Linked DNA regions of Homo sapiens: region 1 is linked to region 2. The links are contacts of gene promoters, found by promoter capture Hi-C in human tissues and cell types (Jung and others, 2019). All regions are on one chromosome and are shown on one strand. Each heading gives the region's core, a stretch centred on a gene start or on the middle of the fragment in contact. The rest is flanking DNA. Distances are from core to core; before and after follow the strand shown. Region 1 overlaps FMNL2 (formin like 2). Region 2 holds the start of CACNB4 (calcium voltage-gated channel auxiliary subunit beta 4).

The links. The method cuts DNA at HindIII sites, captures the fragments that hold promoters and counts their contacts. A contact is called where the count stands out against the background at its distance.
Region 1: a contact is called between a fragment that was not itself captured here and the fragment with the promoter of CACNB4 in region 2, in 2 of the 25 tissues and cell types used here (adrenal gland and aorta).

The regions. Positions count from the first base shown.
Region 1 is chr2:152,581,357-152,585,222 of GRCh38, forward strand. All of the region lies in intron 9 of FMNL2 (formin like 2), which reads left to right. Among named protein-coding and RNA genes, the nearest start is that of PRPF40A, 130 kb to the right of the region's middle. The HindIII fragment of the contact is 3,076 bases long and covers 566-3,641 here.
Region 2 is chr2:152,097,426-152,101,153 of GRCh38, forward strand. It overlaps CACNB4 (calcium voltage-gated channel auxiliary subunit beta 4), which reads right to left and starts at 1,619. Exons shown (of 14, transcript NM_000726.5): 1 at 1,524-1,619; 2 at 905-988. The coding sequence starts at 1,586. RefSeq lists a silencer at 1,528-1,817. The HindIII fragment of the contact is 13,270 bases long and covers 1-3,728 here.

The sequences.
Region 1 (3,866 bases), core at 854-3,353, 480 kb after region 2:
GGGTTGATATTGGCACTTGATCGTCCACCATGCAAATTTTATGAACTCTTTCATCACAGTTACTTTATTTTTGCTGGATGCTATGAAAAACCTGGCAAATACTGGCACTGATTCTGGGAGCGTGTAAGCTTAAGTGGGCTTGTCACAGCCAAACAATAATGCAACAGTTGAGCATGGTTGGAAACGGAGACTGTCTGACCACAAAGAAAGGAGGGATTACACAAAGACAATATGACGCCGCGGGCCCTGCCCCAGCGTATCCAAACATCACCGCCGCGGGCCCTGCCCCAGTGTATCCAAACATCACCGCCTAGATAGTAGCTGCTTTCCCACAGGGTAGTGGGCAGTGTTGTAGGACCAAGAAGAGTACCTGTTTGTTCCCCTGGTATATGCCTGACATCAGAGGCTACTTTGAGGTGAGAAATTACAAAGTAGTCCTTAGAGAACAGGTGGAAGCCCAGGTTACAATAGGACCCTTCGCCAAGTTGTGTGTTATGCTAGAAGTCCCATTTAATTCCAAATGCTTTTGGATTAAGACCCGAGCTGGATTAAAATCCAGGTCACAGAGGGACTGTTTTCTCTCCTCTTTCCTGAAAGGTTCTGAACTAGAAACTCTGATAGTATTTATTGAGAACCTACTATATGCCGGGGCTATACCAGCTACATGCATGGCATCATTTGGTTCTATAAGAACATCTTTGAGACAAATATTAATATCTTGATTTTAGCGAAATTGAAATACATAGTTTACCTGTGGTCACATAGCTAGATAAGTGACAGAGCCAGGAACAGGACTTGGTGCTCCTGATCCTGAACTTCCTTGAAATGTGTTGAAGTTGTGGCCTTATTGTTTGTGAATCCCTTGAAGGAAATAAGGGAAATACTGAAATGAGACAGGACTTCGGAGCTATTTCCCCTGCCTCCTACCTCCTTAATTGGATTTACTGCCCAGCTGCCAAATGTTCTAGACACCAGCCTGTGAGCCTCTGCATAGGCTGGGAAGCTTCAAAGATGTGAACAGGGCAGACACTCCTCTTGCTCCTTTATTTGCATTGCCTCCTTACTGCTAGTCCATTCTTTAAGATTTTGATATTATCCATTTTGTAAATGCCAACTGTGGAGACAACCAAATATTATCTTTTTTTTTCTTTCTATTGAGCCCCAAAGATAGTGAAAAAATATCCAGCTTCCAAGAGAATGAAGAAGAATAATAGTGAATCTTTAAATTCATATTCTGGCTTCCAAGACAAATAGATTTTAGAGACAAGAATGTACGAATGCTTGTCTGTGAATGTTTTTATATATCATGTATAAATATATAAATTTTACATTTATAAATAAGGAAGTATGTTTGGGTGGATGGGTTTAATATGAAAGAGAAACAGTATGTGCAGCTCATATAACGCCCAAATCTTTATCATTAGGTCATATTTGAAAATATTGCATGCTGAGTACTTTTCACATTGGAAACATTTACTATATAGTTATCAGTGGCCCTTGTTATAATGACTCATATTATAACAGGAATCTGATTATACTGCAGGTCAGATTATATCCTAAAGATATATTTGTATAGAACAAGAATAAAAGCCAGGAATTCATGAGATGAATGATAATATTTTTTTCTCCTAGGTAAGATAGAGTACCTTTCTTATGCATAGTAGGCCCACAGATACTTGCAGAATTGAGTTTTAACTCTTTGGTGTCAGACTTATATATGCTTTAGCTATTTAGGGTGTAGTATGTGCTTAATTGAAGAAAAATGTAATCCTAAGTCTAATACCTGGACAATAGTAATGAGAACTAAATTACTTTTGACATTGAATTCTTAGAGCTTTAACCAAAACTGGCCTCATTTCTGTAATTAATCAGGAGTGATGGTAGGTCTTCAGGTACTGTCCTTGGCATAGGCATTTGCATCTGATAGAAGGTGATAGCAGTGGGCTAGGGGAGGTCCTCAAATGCTGGTGGGACCCCAAACCCTGCTGGTGTCTAGGCGCTTGACATCCTCACAAGAATGAATTCAAGTATGAGTTAGAAAATAGTGAAAGTGTGGAGATTTATTGCAAAGCAAAAAGTACACACTCAAGAAAGGGGAGTGTGGGCATGCTTGAGAGAGTCACACAAGGTGGTTTGGGGCTGCTACCTTTATGGATTTCTTTAACCAAGGGATGGAGTATTCACGGAGATTCCTGGAAGAAGCTGGAGATTTCTCAGAACTATGGTGCTACCCATTTTTACCTCAAATAACGATGTTCTGGAACTGTCATGGCACTGGTGGGTATATGATTGAATATGTGAATGAGCATAGAATAAGGTCCTAGGAGAAACCTGGATCAAATCCAGCACCATGTTGGACCCAGTTTGTCTTTGCCAGCTTGGCCCACACCCTGTTTTTCAGGGTCTTATCAGCCCCAAGCTTCTGCAGCTATTTCAGCAGTTTCCTTTTGCTTAGTCATGTGAAACTGCTGCCTAGAATTTTTTATTCTGCTGCAACCATCCTGCATTATTCTTGTCTAAAAACCATATAGACAGACCAAGCAAATGGATTATTATCCTAATAGCCATGGGAATGAAGACAAGGTAGCAACATGCCCCCGACAAACTTAGTTGTTATAGATAGGTCAGAAGAGCCTCAACCGATTTATCCAATCTTGAGGTGCAAAAGGTGTTATTCTGTGTTGATCTTGCTTTCTAAAACATGCAATGCCGCTCACAGCTCAAAGTCTCTTAAATCCCTTCCTCTTTTTCTCCCATCTTTGCGTGAGTGAATTTTTTTTTTTTCACATCATAGTAAAGTGAATTCTTTAACCTCTTTAACCAAAATGTCATTGGAATCTTCTGGTTTTATAATAATATTCATTATTATATTCTGGCATGCCTGTGCAGATAGGGTTTTGTTCAGTGAATAATTCCTTTTGAGCCACATATGGCAGAGAGAGTACCATACCAGGTACCAGGATACCAGGAAGGAGGACCAAAGAAGAGTCTTTGCCTTCGAGAAGATTGTTTTTAAAGCTTTTCATCTTTTTTAGTAAGTTGGGATTCCATTCATCTGCCTAAGAAGGATGAAAGGATTATCTTTGTTTTTATTGGCAGGAATGAGGGGTGAAGTAGGGGAGTTCAACATCTATTTTTTGCAAATAAAGTAATATGCTTTAGAGTAGCCAGATCCTTTGGGCTTTGATCACTGTTAGAGCATAGCCAAGCGTACTAACGCAATATGGAACCAGATGCTAGAAAGACATTTAAAAGGCCATGTATCTTAAGTAGTTTATGTAGCAGGATTTTTCCCCCTCTACCTCTTGAGCCAATAAATCCATTCTATCTAATTTGACCACCACTAATTAATTAGTTCAGATGTAAATTAAAGGAAGTTATTATTTGGCTGTTGAAAGATTTTTATGTATGACTACATCATTTTCTCATGTTTTGATGAATATTTAGAATCCCAATCTTATATTTTTTTTCCTTAAAAAATCTTGCTACAAATCTTGTAATAGCTGAAGTGCATGTTTTAGGAAGGCAGGGAGCACCTTTAGTTTAATGGTATGTGATGGTGGCAAGAATGTTAACCCAAAGCTTTGCTTATGGTGGGGGTGGGATTGGGGTCTAAGCCTGATGTCACTGAGCAAACACATACATGGCTTCAATGTACATGATGACAAATGAGTCTTAATTACATGAATACAGATAGTAAGCTTATACTGTGCGTGGTTTGTGACATGCCTGAAAACATGAGTGTATTGAGTAGATGAAGACTAAATCATTAACAGTCAACCATTGTGCTCCTTGAATTCTTTTTTCCTTAAAAAACAATTTTTTAAGGGGATTAACACATCTGGTTTTGTGTTGAAATATCTCTT
Region 2 (3,728 bases), core at 369-2,868:
AATGTCTTCCTAGGTCACCCGAAACCTAGGACACACCCCGACAATTTCTGTTCCAAAGAAAGATCAAGGTGACTCATTGCATGATCTCTCTAGCACCCAGCAGCCAGGGGTGGTTTCATTAACAGCACATGGACAGTTGGAAAACTGAGGACCAATTTCCTGTGCCAAGGTGAAAGGCACCTAAGCATTGAGCATTACCAGCGATCCGGAGATCCCGAGCACAGACAATTCGCACTAGAACCACGCAGGAGAAAGCAAGCACTAAGAAAACAAACACGAAGTGAAGGCGCACCCAGACCCGGAGCTGAGTGCTGGCCTTCGTTAATTCCTATTTAACCAGATACAGCTGTCTTTCCCTAACTAAGCGAATCCAAGAAGCGGTCCTAAAGTGAGAGTAAACTTTCTGCTCAGTGTCTTTCTTTTGACCGGAGCTTGACGATCTCTCCCAAGATCCAGACAGATAAGAGTATTCAAATTAGGACAAAACAGAAGAAACCACTAAATCTCAACTCGAATCAAACCAGGTCCCCGGCCCCGAGGGGTCTGGTTACTCTAGGTCGAGTTATACGAATTAAAGACATTTCTCCACGCACCAAAGATACAACCAGACATATTTCCAGCTCTTAAATTCAACGTCCCTGACTTAAGCCAGGTCCCCACCGAACTGTCCACACACATGCACAAACTAACTTCCCGGGGCGGTGCGGAGACGCCGGGACGCGAAGACGTCAAGAGCCCAGGCTAGAGGGAGAGGGACTGAGCCCGAGCACCGGCCGAGGCCGGGAAGAGACGCGCGCGGGCTTGACCCGCAGCTCCCGCACGTGTGGGCCACGGCCGGCTCCAGGACCCCCGCGCCGCGCGCTCGGCCTCCTCCCCATCCTGGTCTCCCGCCTCCTTCTCATACCTGTCTGAGGATGAAGCTGGTCGAAGTGGTGCTGCCATCGGATCTTTTCAACCTGCTCCTCCGGGTTGTGGTGCCTCGGGCCACCTGGACTCGACACACGGGGGCCAGAGAGAAGCCGGTGAGGACCGCAGCGCAGAGCGGGGCGACCACCCCCGGCTGGAGTCCGCCTCCGGACCCGCTCCCTGGGGTCCCCTAGAGCCCGCACCCAAGTCTCCTCCGCGACTCCCAAATACAGCCCCCACCCCCACCCACCCACTGCAAGCCTCGACTGCTGAAAAGATGCTCGAGAAGAGCAGCCCGCAAGCACCCACCACATCCATTAACAAAGACTCTCAGGGTGCGGGGTCCGAGTCCCCGGCATCCGCTGGGGGAGGCTGCGGGCTCCGGAGCGGGAGCGCAGAGACCCGAAGGAGGGTGAGGAGGAGGAGGAAGAGAAGGAGGAGAAAGAGGAGGAGCGGGAGGAGAAAGGGACGTGGAGGAGGGGTGGGGGGAGCGGGGCCGCCGACTCCCGGGACTGGGGCCCCGCACGCCCGGCACGAAGGCGGGGCGCGCTAGGGCGGCGGAGGAGGTGTGAGGAAGGAAGAGGAGGAAGAGGAGAAGGGGGAGGAGGGGGCGGTACCTGCGAGGTGGGGGAGTGCGGCCCGTCCGCGGTCCCGTTCTTGGCGTAGGAGGAGGAGGACATCGTTCAGAGCCGCCGCATGGCCAGCCCGTGTGCGGTGGGCGGAGGGGGCTGGCCCCCGAGGCTGGGCTGCGGACGGAGGGGGAGGGCGCAGGACTTCCCCACCCGGCTCCAGGACCCGCGCCGGCGCCCAGGCTCCCTGCCCGCACTTCGGAGAGCGCGGCACCTTAAAGGGACCGAGGCGCTTCCCCCGCGCTCGCGGCGGGGTCCCGGGGAGGGGGCTTCTCGGAAACTCGCCTACCCGAGCGGATTGGGAGAAGCGCTCTCCCACCTAGCAAGCGCTTTACATCAGAGCTTCCAGAGGATGAAGGGAGGGGGAAATCTGGGATGGGGGTGGCAAGATTAAAATAGTCTGCACAGTTTAAAATGAGACAAAGGTGGCACGGTTCATGAATCAGGACTTGGGGACGGAAGCTGGTGCAGTGTGGCGGGAATGGGAAGAACCGAGCGGGTGTGTGTGTGTGTGTTTGCTGCACTGGAATTTTAAAAGGGCAAGAGCAGAGCCACCTTCCGCGACTTCACTCATCAGCCTAATGTGTAAGGCATGGGGTTTTGTGGCTTGCTTTTCGTCCGTGTTTTTGTATTGCTTTGGCAATTCTGTCCTTAGAGCTGCGAGTCACACACATCCAGGCAGCTGTGAGAAACCCAGCCAGCCTGAGTCTGACGGGAGATGCTGCCCCGCCAAAGACCAGTATGTCCTACGGAGTTTTGAAGGTCATGTTAGACCTGCTAAGAAGCAAGAGTTGGTCACTGTGCCTCCCATTTCTATGCGAATGGATATTTTCAAGGGGGAGAAACTCATCCTTGCAACCATACACAACGTTTGCCATTGGTTTCCTCCTGTAAATACATACAAGAGATTAATTTGTGATCAAATTAAAAGAGAGGGATTGCGGAAAGGAAGAATAAGTGCGAGGTATTGACAGAGGAATAAGAAGAGGGAAGAAAAGTATATGCAAATTCAAAAATAAAGAGACTCCGTTTAAATTAAAATATACTTACTATCTCAAATCGCTAAATCAGCTTGCATTCTAGGACTTTATGTTTATGGACACAACTACCATGCTTGTTTTAATAATTGCTTGGCTTTATTGAGGTCCTGGTTATATCTTACCATCCACCAGACACTTCCTTTCCATTCCTAATCCCTTCACTTAATCCAAACCTCTGTAACAATCTTATAACTAATGTCCTTGCCTCCAGGCTTCCTGGTGCATGTGCACGTATGCACATGCACACATACACACGCAGAGATTTCATTCCATCTACACACTACAGGCAAAACCATTTTCCTAAAATATCTTGCCCAAGTCACTCTTCTCTAAGATAAAGTCCAAACTCCATGGTCCAACAACTCAGCCTCTCCTGCATTTCTGATCACTCTCCATCTCATTTCTCCATCTTGATCTCTCTATACAAACCTTCCAGCAAGCAGGCAGGTCTAGTCATCAATACCCAAGTATTCCAAATACAATCACATTTGAGCTCTTCTGCTTTGGAATGCCTCCTTGGAATATGCCCTCCCAACAACCTACACACCCGGCTGAATCCTACCTTTCTTCTAAATGGGACTCAGCTCACGCTTCCTCCACAGAAATCCTATCTGACTACTCCAGTCCCACATAATTCTTGTGCTTCTGAAAAACTGGAGCATGTATTCTCTGGGCACTTAGAATAGGCTGCCTTAGCTTATTAGTTTGTTAGTTCTGTTTTTGTGAAAATCTCCTAATTTTCAGAATTTTTAGCGGTTTATCTTCTATTCCTATACCTTCCATATAGTAGATACTCCATGAATTTATGGGGAATGGAGGTCTAACCATGCAGGACTCCCTACTTTAGTTACTGTCAACCCAATCCGTATTTAGTTCTGAGCCATTTTCATAGTTGATACGTGTGTGCATATTAAATTACTATGTGAGCACTGGACTTTGAATTGTGTGGTTTTCCACTGTCCACATTCTCACTGACTTTAAGTTATTGAAACAGAACCCACAGAGGCATAACAACATGAGAAGCCCTGTACACCCAGCTCAAAGCAAAACTGGTGAAAATTATATGTTTTATATATAAGCAACCATTTAAATTTCTAAAAATGGTCCTAAAGGTGCACAACAAATGAAGGAACATTTATTCAAGAAAACCTAC